2 separate regions of the Homo sapiens genome follow, and region 1 is linked to region 2. The links are contacts of gene promoters, found by promoter capture Hi-C in blood cells and fetal thymus (Javierre and others, 2016). All regions are on one chromosome and are shown on one strand. The core of a region is centred on a gene start or on the middle of the fragment in contact, and the rest is flanking DNA. Distances in the headings are between cores, read along the strand shown.

Region 1 (5,766 bases), core at 1,935-4,434, 930 kb after region 2:
GTGCAGTGGCGCAATCTCAGCTCACTGCAACCTCTGCCTCCTGGGTTCAAGCGATCCTCCTGCCTCAGCCTTCCAAGTAGCTGGGATTACAGGTGTGCACCACCATGCTAGGCTAATTTTTGTACTTTTAGTGGAGACAGCTGTCACCATGTTGGCCAGGATGGTCTCAAACTCCTGAACTCAGGTGATCCACCTGCCTCGGCCTCCCAAAATGCTGGGATTACAAGTGTGAGGCACCGTGCCCGGCTGTGAGCATTCTGCATTCTTTATGGTCTCTCCTTGGGAGGGTTGTGAGACTTAACAAATAAAAACATTGCATAGGACATACTTATACCAAAAAATTGTTCTTGAAATTCAAATTTAATGGGACCACCTGTGTTTTATCAGGCAACCCTACCCCTAGGACTCACTGCCCTGTGAGTTCAGAGAAGGAGCACCCTCAGGGCCCAGCACTGTGGCTGGCTGCAGTAGGCACTCAATAAACACTAAAAGAATGAGCCATTAAGCAGATGCATGAGCAGCACTTGCTAAGTTGTACTGTATTTTGCATTTGCTTGCTGACTCCCCACCTGCATCGCAAGCCCCTGCTTGCTGCGCAGGCAGTGTTAGATGGCATCCTCTGTACCTAATGCAGCCTGAGGAGTGGTTTAGGGAGAATGTATCTGCCTCTTACCATCTATTAGTGCCTCCCCTACTACCCCAAGTAATAATCAAATATGAAAAACAATTTTAGAATGTGGCAATATATGTAATGACATGGAAACTGAGAAACATTTTCTCAATCATATGTACATGAATAAAAACACCTTTGGAAAACTTTGCTATATTTATAGGCTGCAGTGTATAATCTATGAAAAAACTGCTTCCATCTAGTGCCCTAGCTACCCCTTTCCAACCAGACAGCCTCTACGAAACCCTTCCTCTTTTGGAATCGTGGAGCTGGCAAAAAGAGCTGACCAGTAGATGTCTGTTATACAAATGATGGCAGAATTTTACTGTGATTCTGGGCCTATGTGTCAATCTTCCCACTGGACTGGGATCCTGCACAGGCCAGCAAGGTGTCCTTATTGTCCCCAGGCCCAGCATGCAGCAGCAGCTCAGGAAATGGGGATTGAAAATCTATCAAGAGCCACATCTCATAGTTGACGTTAAAGCTTCCCCGAAGGAAGGCTGGTTCAAATGCACACCCCATGTTGCCCTCTGGAGATCAGCAATCCCATCAAGGCCCAGCCCAAACCACACACTGGCAAGCAGCCCAGAAAGGGTGTGGTCCAACTGCCCCACAAGTCCTGTGAATAAGCCCGGTCTTCACTCCCAGTTCATAAAAGGGCCACTGTCCCAGGGCAGCCTCAGCTCCTGTTGGTTTCAACTCAGAAGGAGAATGTTGTTGCTTGAGCCTCTTTTGAGCTTTAAAAAGGACAAGGAAAGGCACTGTACGGAGTGTTTTACTTTTGACTTTTTTTTCATGACTACAAACTGTTGGATATTGAAAACCTTGCATTTACTTGTGAATTGCCAGTCTGTGTTTGCGTATGGAGGAAGGTAAGATTTGCAGGGCTGGAATTATTTTCATTTTCCTTGTAAGTTTCTCCAGTACTTAGCTTTTCATTGAGCATTCTATATTTATTTCTGTGTCATTATGTCATTCTTTGGTGCATTTTATAACCTGTGATGCTGAAAGCTGCCTTCCTTCACATTGTGGGCTAGAGTCAGATAGGGCAATACAGTCACACAGCATCCACCAGAAGTTAGTGCCATGGAACACAGTCCTGAATAAGCACACCAATTTGCTACAAGAATGATCACAGAAAGACTGTGTATAATAGTATCAAAGAATAATTCAAAGACATAGGGTTAATTATTAGGGCACCATTTACTTGAATACAAGGGAAACCAAAAATAGCTTTATTTCATATATCAGAGCCAAAATAAGAAATAGGAAAAGAGGAGAAAGGAGAAAAATGAAAAACTGCAGACGTGTGAAAGATAATGAACTTTGCCTTTTCTTGAGTAAGCTGCTGATTAGCAGGCAGCTAGCTAAGAAGGCCAGAGGGTGTTCTGCCCTTGACATCTGGATGAATCATCAAAGAGGATAATTCCAGTTGCTTATGGATTCTCCAGGAGCCCTTGGAGTGGAACTGTGCTGTATCTGTGACAAGTTCCCTCTGTGTCACATGTGCCTGGGTCCTGGGAGAACACCTCCATCTCTGTTATGCCTCTCTGCCCTATGACCTTTATGTAAAAAGTCTCAATGTAAGCAGCCTAAATGTCTAACTTAAAAGGAACCAGCTAAACAAACCTCAGTATAACCTCAGCATGGAATACCAAAGATCTTTTTTTTTGAAACTGAGTTTCACTCTGTCGCCCAGGCTGGAGTACAATGGTACAATCTCAGCTCACTGCAAACTCCACCTCCCAGGTTCAAGCGATTTTCATGCCTCAGCCTCCCGAGTAGCTGGGATTATGGGTGCCCACCATCACGCCTGGCTAATTTTTTTATTTTTAGTAGAAGCGGGGTTTCACTATGTTGGCCAGGTTGGTCTCAAACTCCTGACCTCAGGTGATCCTCCCGCCTCAGCCTCCCAAAGTGCTAGGATTGCAGGCGTCAGCCACCATGCCCGGCCCCAAAGATCTTTTAAAAATGTTGTGATTTAAGAAAATGTTGTAGTAAAAATATGTAATAATGTAGAAGTTGTTCATGATATACCATTAAGTTATGAGTTTGTGGGGACACACTCATTCCATAGCATTAAATCTGTATCAGTCAAGGTTCTCTAGAGAAACAGAACCAATAGGATCTATGTATACATATATCTCTAGAAAGGGACTTATGAGAAGGTATTGGCTCACGTGAATATGGAGGTTGAGAAGTCCCACAATCTGCTGTCTGCAAGCCGAGGACCCAGGAAAGCTGGTCGTATAACCTGAGAGCCAGAGGGCCGATGGTATAGATTGCAGTCCAGATCTGAAGGCCTGAGAAGCAGGGGTAGCAACGGCAGGGGAAGATCCATATCCCAGCTAAAGTAGTCAGAGATCACATATTCAACCTTCTTCTACATTTTTGTTCTGTTTATACCCTGAACAGATTGGATGCAGTCCACGCACAGTGGGGAGGGCCATCTGCTTGACTCAGTTCACCAATTCAAATGCTAATCTTTTCCAGAAACACCCTAACAGATATATCTAGAAATAATATTTATCTGGGCATCCCATGGCCCAGTCAAGTTGACACATAAAATTAACTGTTGCCATAATCCAGTGGGGAGAAAATGGTGCCTGAACATGAGCAGTGGTTGGGTGGCTGGAAGGAAGGAGATGGATTGAGAACTCTCTAGCAGCCACAGTTGGCAGAACTTGGTGCTAATCAGAGGTGGGGGTGAGAAAAATGAGTCTAAGACAACTGATGATTTTGGTTGGATGACTGGTGGTCACATTAAGTGAGACCCTTTCTTTCTTTCTGGTTTTTTTTTTTGTTTGTTTGTTTCTTTTTTTTTTTTGAGATGGAGTTTTGCTCTTGTTGCCCAGGCTGGAGTGCAATGGCACGATCTTGGCTCACCGCAACCTCTCACTCCTGGGTTCAAGTGATTCTCCTGCCTCAGCCTCCCGAGTACCTGGGATTACAGGCATGTGCCACCATGCCCAGCTAATTTTGGATTTTTAGTAGAGATGGGGTTTCTCCATGTTGGTCAGGCTGGTCTCAAACTCCCGACCTCAGGTGATTTGCCCACCTCAGCCTCCCAAAGTGCCGAGATTACAGGTGTGGGCCACTGCGCCTGGCCGAGACCCTTTCTTGTGCATTGCCATGGTGAAAATACCAGCCTGGTATTACCATTTCTTTCAAAGCGTTGCTAACATCTCTGAAAATCCTAGCACACTCCCTTCAGTGGTCCCCTGTACTCCCTTGCCTGAGGGATCTCCCTGCCTACATGCCATGCCTCCTTATTTCACCCATGGGCCCCAGAGGGGTACAGCAGCCATCAGTGAGGTACTGGTTCTTTCTCCCTGGGCTTATAGTCCCACTGTGTTGAGTACCTTGTCTTCCTCTGTTCGGGTCACCTCCCTGTGCCACAAACATCTACCTTCCAGGAAAGGATCACAAACTGTAGGACTGAAGACTAGATTTCAACCCATAGATGTCTATGATTTGGCCTGCTCTGTGTATGTGTGTGTATACACACACACACACACACACACACACACACACACACACACACTTAAATGTAAATGCCTTTGAAGGAGGGACCAGGCTCTCTGGTATGTCATGTTCCCTCAACCCTTCTGGTTGCCTCACCTTTGGCCTGCTTTGCTCATTTCCCTTCATGCCTGACAGCCACAGGCTTCTGTATGTCTAAGCCCCACTGGAAGGAAAGATGTAGGGGGTCTGGTCCACCAAGGGGCAGCATCTGGACCAACAGGGCACTGGCTTTCTTCCTTGTCACATCTTTCTCATCCTTGCTCACAGCAGGATGAGCGCTTGGAGAGATGGCTGGCTTCCTACAGAAGGTTACCAAAAGACCAAGCTATCTTCCCTTGAAAATAAAACCCAATTGCCTGTATATTAGATTGAACTATATAAAATTGTCCATGTTCAACTTTGCCCTATAAAGATGACAATTTCACATGATTCAACCTATTAACATGGCCCTGGCTTAGTCGCTAGTAGGACAATGGTTCTCAGCCTTGGTTGCAAATTAGAATAAACTGGAGGTTTTAAAAAATACCCTTGCTAGGACCTCACCACAAGACTATTAAATTCAAATTTTTGCAGATGGGGGCAGGCATAGAGCTATTTAAAAAGCTCCTCTGGGCTGGGCACAATGGCTCAAGCCTGTAATCCCAGCACTTTGGGAGGCCAAGGCAGGAGGATCGCTTGAAGTCAGGAGTTTGAGGACAGCCTGGCCACTGTGGCAAAACCCCATCTCTACTAAAAATACAAAAATCAGCCAGGCATGGTGGCGCACGCCTGTAGTCACAGCTACTCGGGAGGCTGAGGCAGGAGAATCGCTTGAACTCAGGAGGCAGAGTTTGCAGTGAGCTGAGATTGCACCTCTGCACTCCAGCCTGGGCGACAGAGGGAGACTTTGTCTCAAAAAGAAAAAAAAGCTCCCCTACAGCCAGACTGATAATTGTCCTCTAGCACATCCCTCGGCCAGCCATGAGAAAGGCTCAAAGAGCCTTCTGCTGAACTCCTTACCACATTATCCATCGATGGTAGAAGCTTCCTGGCTTTCCAAGCAGGGTCTCAAAGAGAAGTCTGAGGAACCCAGAACTTCCATGTGACTGCAATTACTTCATGCATTGAATTGAGTCAATAAAAAACAGCTTCCATCACAACAAAAAAAAAATGTGTGTTAAATACCAATATGCCTGTGGTACCATCCTAGGCATATTACAAAAGTATTACCTTGTGGGAATTAGCAATCTGGAATTTGCAATTCTCTCTCCACCCAATCCCTTGAAAAGCCATATGTGGCATTAGAGAAATTCATAACAAACTGGAAAATGTCAAAGATGTGGCCCTGGACATTTACTGAAGCGTATATGCCACAACAAAGTGTACACTTTGGGGTAGTTAAACAAATTTCTATAGCCATACATGACAGTTAAGTGATACACAGCTTTGAGAGCCATAACTCCTCTGCATTTCTTACTAACTCTAGAAATCTAACATATCCATTAATGTATTTTTCTTTTTGCTTTTACTGTGCAGATTTAAAGAACAAAATAAATAGGTAAATATATTTTCAGAATAAAAAAGAAAACATC
Region 2 (6,329 bases), core at 2,983-5,482:
TTATGAATTCCAATGATAGTAAATATGTAGATCACCTTTGGGAGCTTGAAACCTGGAGGAAAGAGGAGGGGAGAAGGCAGGCAGGGGTGTGAGAGCTTTCTTGTAGTTCACACATAAAGGACTGTTTGCAAACTACAGTGTTAACTAAGACTTCATCAGCCAAGGATTTATCTTCACATTAAAATCTGGGTTGGCTCTGGGGAGATACCACTGGTGTAAGTTCAAGTAGGATTAACTGCCTCCCAGCAATGCAAATTGGTTTCCAACTTTTTTGTTTTGTTTTTTCTTCAATATTTTTTGGGATATTTTTCTTAAATGATAATAATTTGCAAAAACCATGAAATATTATTTTTGGTTCTACAAATGTCAGAACACCAAAGAAAAACACTCTTCAGGAATCCAGATCTATTAATGAAATTAAAAATTAGGGGACTTGAGTTTTAATCTCAATCTCCTAAGTAGCCATGTTTAGGTAGGTTGCTTAATACAATTCTATGCTTAATTTTTTTTTTAAATTCTCTAAATGATGATTTTAAAATACTGGTTCTACTTATCTCACAGAATTATTGTTCAGGTTGTGAAAGTATTTTCTTTCTTTCTTTTCTTTTTTTTGAGACAGGGTCTCATGCTGTTGCCCAGGCTGGAATGTAGTGGTGCAATTATGGTTCACTGCAGTCTCAAACTCCTGGACTCAAGTGATTCTCCTGCCTCAGCCTCCTGAGTAGCTGGGACTACAGGTGTTTGCAACCAGGCCCAGTTAATTTTTTTCTATTTTTTTGTAGAGATGAGGGTCTCACTATGTTGTCCAGGCTGGTCACAAACTCCTGGGGCTCAAGTGGTCCTCCTGCCTCAGCCTCTAAAAGCACTATGATTATAGGTGTAAGCCACCATGCCTGGCCTGTGAAAGTATTTTATTTTTAAGTTATGAACACTAGATAAATTTCAGACATACTATTACTTAGGCAATTAGATAATGACCTGCTGCTAGTCTGGGGTCAGGATAGGGAGGTGAAGCAGGGACCAGTATCTGGAACGTTTGGATTTAAAAAGTAGGATTATTGAAAATGGATTAAAGACTTAAATGTAAAACCCCAAACCATAAAAACCCTAGAAGAAAATCTAGGCAATACCATTCAGGACATAGGCATGGGCAAAGACTTCATGACTAAAACACCAAAAGCAATTGCAACAAAAGCCAAAATTGACAAATGGGATCTAATCCAACTAAAGAGCTTCTGCACAGCAAAAGAAACTATCATCAGAGTGAACAGGCAACCTACAGAATGGGAGAAAGTTTTGCAATCTACCCATCCGACAAAGGTCTAATGTCCAGAATCTACAAGGAACTTAGACAAATTTACAAGAAAAAAACAAACAACCCCATCAAAAAGTGGGCAAAGGATATGAACAGACACTTCTCAAAAGAAGACATTTATGCAGCCAATAAACATATGAAAAAAAGTTCATCATCATTGGTCATTAGAGAAATGCAAATCAAAACCACAGTGAGATACCACCTCACGCCAGTGAGAATGGTGATTATTAAAAAGTCAGGAAACAACAGATTCTGCCAAGGCTATGGAGAAATAGGAATGCTTTTACACTGTTGGTGGGAGTGTAAATTAGTTCAACCATTGTGGAAGACACTGTGGCGATTCCTCAAGGATCTAGAACCAAAATACCATTTGACCCAGCAATCCCATTACTGGGTATATACCCAAAGGATTATAAATCATTCTACTATAAAGACACATGCACATGTATGTTTATTGCAGTGCTATTTACAATAGCAAAGACTTGGAACCAACCCAAATGCCATCGATGATAGACTGGATAAAGACAATGTGGCACATATACACCATGGAATACTATGCAGCCATAAAAAAGAATGAGTTCATGTCATTTGCAGGGACATGGATGAAGCTGGGAGCCATCATTCTAAGCAAAGTAACACAACAGAAAACCAAACTCTGCATATTCTCACTTATAAGTGGGAGTTGAACGATGAGAACACATGGACACAGGGAGGGTAATATCACATACTGGGGCCTGTCGGGGCGTGGGGGAAAGGGGAGGGAGAGCATTAGGACAAATATCTAATGAATGCAGGGCTTAAAACCTAGATGACGGGTTGATAGATGCAGTAAACCACCATGTTTACTGTAACCACCATGTTACATAGGTATACATAGGCACATGTATACCTATGTAACAAACCTGCATGTTCTGCACATGTATCCCAGAACTTAAAGTTAAAAAAAAAATAGTAGGATTACTAAAAAAGCAGGATTACTGGCGGTTGGCAGAGGCCTTTTCTTGAGCTCAGGAATGGATGATGCCACTGAAAGAGCAGATGTGGAAATAAATTCTGGAAATGTTTCGCATACCACTTGTAATGCTGTTTTTAAGATAATTGCTTGGGTAAATAAATTCCTTATACATTGACTAGTAAAGAGATACTCAACTTTGTACATTTGATGCCATATTCACTTGCTGTCTAACTTATGTTACCATGGCATTAATTTAGTATAAATAAAAATGCTCTAGGTCTACTCAGTGCTGAGCCTTGAAATCTCAGCACTCAACATCTCTTATCCACTAAAGCACACACTGTTGTTTACACGTGGAAGACTGACTATGCAGCCAGTCTAGTAAGCAAGCAAGCAAGCAAGCAAGCAGGGTCCTAGATATTAAAAATGACCATTCCTGTAAACCATCAAGCCACAAATCAACAAGCTTAATCACAAAAGTTTCTTGAGGGAACAAAGTTGAAGTAATATCCATTGAGTCATTGTGGAACTATCTGTACTTGTGGTTGATTAGCCAGGTAAGCTGGTTTTTCCTCAGTTTCCTCACCTGTTAAACAAGAGGCAGAATGATGTTCTCTCTAAAACACTTCTTGCTTTGAAATACTATTACTCTAAATAAGACTTTGGAGAAACTCACAAAATACATCCTTGTTAACTCTCAATAAGCCCAAACAATATTCCAGGACCCCACAAAACCAGAAAACTAACAGGACCCCTTGTAGACCAGTCTCTTTGTGCAACGTAGGGAGAAAGGGCGGGGGGGACTAAAGAACCTCCCAAAAGGTATTAAAAATAGCAACATGTAATTATGAAAAATCTTGTTCCACATTAGGTAGCCACATTCAAGAAAAACTGTTGGAGATCTACTATGTCCAAGGCACGGTTTAAGTTATTACTGTTCAATTTTGAAATTATTATTGTTAACTTGTCAGTAATTTCTTAAACCTAAACTGGTGAAACTCTCCTTGGGTGGACATAAAAGTAAAGCCATGGCCAAGGAGGGAGACAGTCTACAAATAAACCAAAAATAAAATACAAGTGACATCATTAAAGGAAAAAAGCCAACACACTGCACAAAGATCAAAGACAAAACAGAGAAACATGTTTGGTTAATACTGGGCTTTGAGTATTTCATGTGCCTGAGAGGCCCGTCCGTCCATCCACACCACACTTCTTCACCATGCTGTTGCAAACCAATGACAAGTTCAGCTTCAGCGCGGACAGGGCGCAGGGCGCAGACCCTGTGCATATCCCAGAATCCCGGACCCACTGCCACTCCACTCTGGGAAGGAAGAAGGCGCTCCCCCTTGGGTGACTGTAAGATAAAGCAGCTTCTTCGATCTCTTTGTCCAATAAGAAAGAAACGTTGGCCCATAAAGAAAGAAAGAAACAAATAAATAGGAAAGGTGTGAGAAGGAAGGGAAGCTCCTTTCTTTTCTGTTTAAATTTCCCGCACCCTTTTACCTCCCCGCCTTCTCAAACGGTCTTTACTTTGAGCAGCAGAGACCCGGACCGCTCAATACCCGGCTATCCCTGGGAGGGTACTTGGAAAGTAGGCGGGACAGGCCGGATGAATAATTCGGTGTCCGACTTTTCCTGCCTGCGGCGCAGTCCCTCCCCGGCTTCGTTACTCGAGTGCACACGCGGCCGGGCTCTCGGCCCTCGATTGCTTCAGCCTATCACCCTGGGATGCCGCCTGCCGCTGCCGCCGCCGCCGCCGCCGCCACCGCCACCGCCACCGCCACCGCCACCGCCGTGGCTGCCGGGTTTGTGGGATCCGCCGCGGAGCAGGAGCCAGAGCTGTGGCCGGAGCTGTGGCCTGAGAGTCAGGGGGCGGGCAGGCTCATTCCAGAAGTGGGGGCCGAGGACAGGCGGGCTAGAACCCGGGGCCACCGCCCCCTACCCCTCCTCAGGCTGAGGGAACGGGCACTCGGAGCTTCTGAGGCGGCGGCGGCGGGAGCCGGTCAGAGGGGGCGGCCCCTGGCGGCGACGCCCCCAAGCCCAGCCCTGCCCGGCCCCGCTCCATCCCCAGCCAGAGCCTGGTCTGACCGCGAGAGACGCCGGCGGGGCTGAAGAAGGCGGCTCCGAGGAGGTGGGAGGGCGAGCCTCCCCTCCCGGGTTCTTCTGCGTCCTCTCCCGGGAGGGACCCACACACACCTGAGCCCGGACCCACCCTTGGTCGGGGCCACGCTGGATCCTCCTCCCGGCCTGGGTCCCGCCCGCCGACTGCAGGTGGGCTGCATCGCCCGAGCCTCGGGCAGTGGGCGACGGGGAAGGAGGTGAGAGGTGTCCGCGCCGGCTGCCGCTCGGGTCCCTGCCCTCGCTGCGCGCTCTCCTCCTCCCCTTACCGCAGGCAGGGCGCGGAGCCGCGCGCCAGCCCGCCCCGAAGCCGCCGCCTCGTCCCCCTCCCGCCTCGGGGCACCATGGAGCTCTCTCCGTCGTCCGGAGGAGCCGCGGAGGCGCTGTCCTGGCCGGAGATGTTCCCGGCGCTGGAGTCCGACTCGCCGCTGCCCCCGGAGGACCTGGACGCGGTTGTCCCAGTCAGTGGAGCCGTCGCCGGTGGCATGTTGGATCGGATCCTTCTGGAGTCCGTGTGCCAGCAACAGAGCTGGGTCCGGGTGTACGGTAAGGACCACAGGCCGTCTTAGAGGCTGGTGTTTCCTATTTTTGCTTGGGCTGAAATTCATTCCCTAAGTCACAGGCTCATTCCCAGTCCTCATCCGTGCTAGGTCAGTTTCCCACATCCCTTTTTGTTCTGGGGGTGCATTTCTGACAAGTTTCTTCAGACTATCACTTGGGCAGGGATGTCACTCAGTATGGTCTTTGGACCTCTTCAGACACCTGCAGTAAGTTTAATGCGGGAGTTGGGCTATCCAAGACGTAATTCTTAGGCGATTACTTCAAGGGAACAGCCAGGCAATCAATCTTCAAGAAGGTATGATGGAAAAACTCCATGAAACCAAGTGAATGGATTTTCGTCTCTTTTTATTGTTGAATGAGGCAAGACTGGAAACCAAGATATTATGAAAAAGCAGAGGATAAGCTAATGAATGAAAAAAATGCAAACTATGTATTTGGTGGGAGCAAGACTAATCTATAACCTCTGCCTGAACCTCACTCTCTCTAAAAGCAACCACTTATTCCAACGGGTGTGGATTGTTTCAGATTACACTATTGTTTCTGAATCTCGTTGTAAAGTGACTGGGTTGCCACTCAGCAGGTTAAAAGTGATGAACACACTAAAACTTTCCCTTTCTGCATTCCTGGTAACCACCTCTTTAATTAAAACTGAATGATGAGATTCTATTAGGGTGAGCCTTGTGGCAGCACTAAAACCATGCTGGTTTTGAAAACTCATAGCTTAAGGATTTATAGCCTGGCATTCAGGACTGAGCTGTGGCTTTCCAAAATATTGAAACGGCAAGATGTTTATCGCCTAGCTCACGTGACTGCAGAAGACATTAGTAACGTGGCTGAGTATAAGATGGCAAATTTGAAGCACCTGGGATCAAACACAATGTTAAGATGTTATCCTGCAGTCTTGTGCATCTAAGCCTGTAGTGATCAAGTACCTTATGTTTTTTTCTTTCATCTTTCTGAACAGGGTATATGCTTACTATTCAAGAGTGACCAAGACTTAGGTTTTTTTCTGTGTAGTTCAGTTGATTTGAAGACTTAATGTCCATCGCAAAGATCATAGAACTAGGAGTCCAGAGATCTCAGTTCTTGTCTCAGTTCTACCACTAAATGGCTATGGGATTTGGGGCAGATCGAGTCACATTTTTGGCTTGTGATTCCTCATCTGTAAAGTGAGTGGATTGGATTAAATCATCACTAGTGACCCTTTTAATCATAAAAATCCAGGAATTCTTCTTATAACCAGTTCTTAAGGATTTGTGTACCACTTTGTATTTTGCTGGCTGTTTCTTGATGTTACTCTACGTACCGGAAGATTTAAAGCAAAGGAGTGGGAGACGATGCAAGGTCACCCAGTTTGTTCTCAGCAAATTAGATTAAAAA

Evidence for each region. Contacts are between HindIII fragments. The CHiCAGO score rates a contact against its expected background, and 5 or more counts as called.
Region 1: a fragment that was not itself captured here is called in contact with the fragment with the promoter of RASAL2-AS1 in region 2 in 1 of 17 cell types (monocytes); the score reaches 7.2 in monocytes.

The regions. Positions count from the first base shown.
Region 1 is chr1:179,015,983-179,021,748 of GRCh38, forward strand. It overlaps a transcript of FAM20B not described here. Among named protein-coding and RNA genes, the nearest start is that of FAM20B, 7.0 kb to the right of the region's middle. RefSeq lists a cis regulatory region at 968-1,479. The HindIII fragment of the contact is 4,064 bases long and covers 1,153-5,216 here.
Region 2 is chr1:178,089,761-178,096,089 of GRCh38, forward strand. It overlaps RASAL2-AS1 (RASAL2 antisense RNA 1), which reads right to left and starts at 4,233. Exons shown (of 2, transcript NR_027982.1): 1 at 3,801-4,233; 2 at 1,748-3,652. RASAL2 (RAS protein activator like 2) reads left to right here and starts at 4,344. Exons shown (of 18, transcript NM_170692.4): 1 at 4,344-4,934. The coding sequence starts at 4,733. RefSeq lists an enhancer at 3,820-4,321 and silencers at 3,943-3,992, 4,043-4,342, 4,413-4,572, 4,723-4,782. The HindIII fragment of the contact is 4,675 bases long and covers 2,735-6,329 here.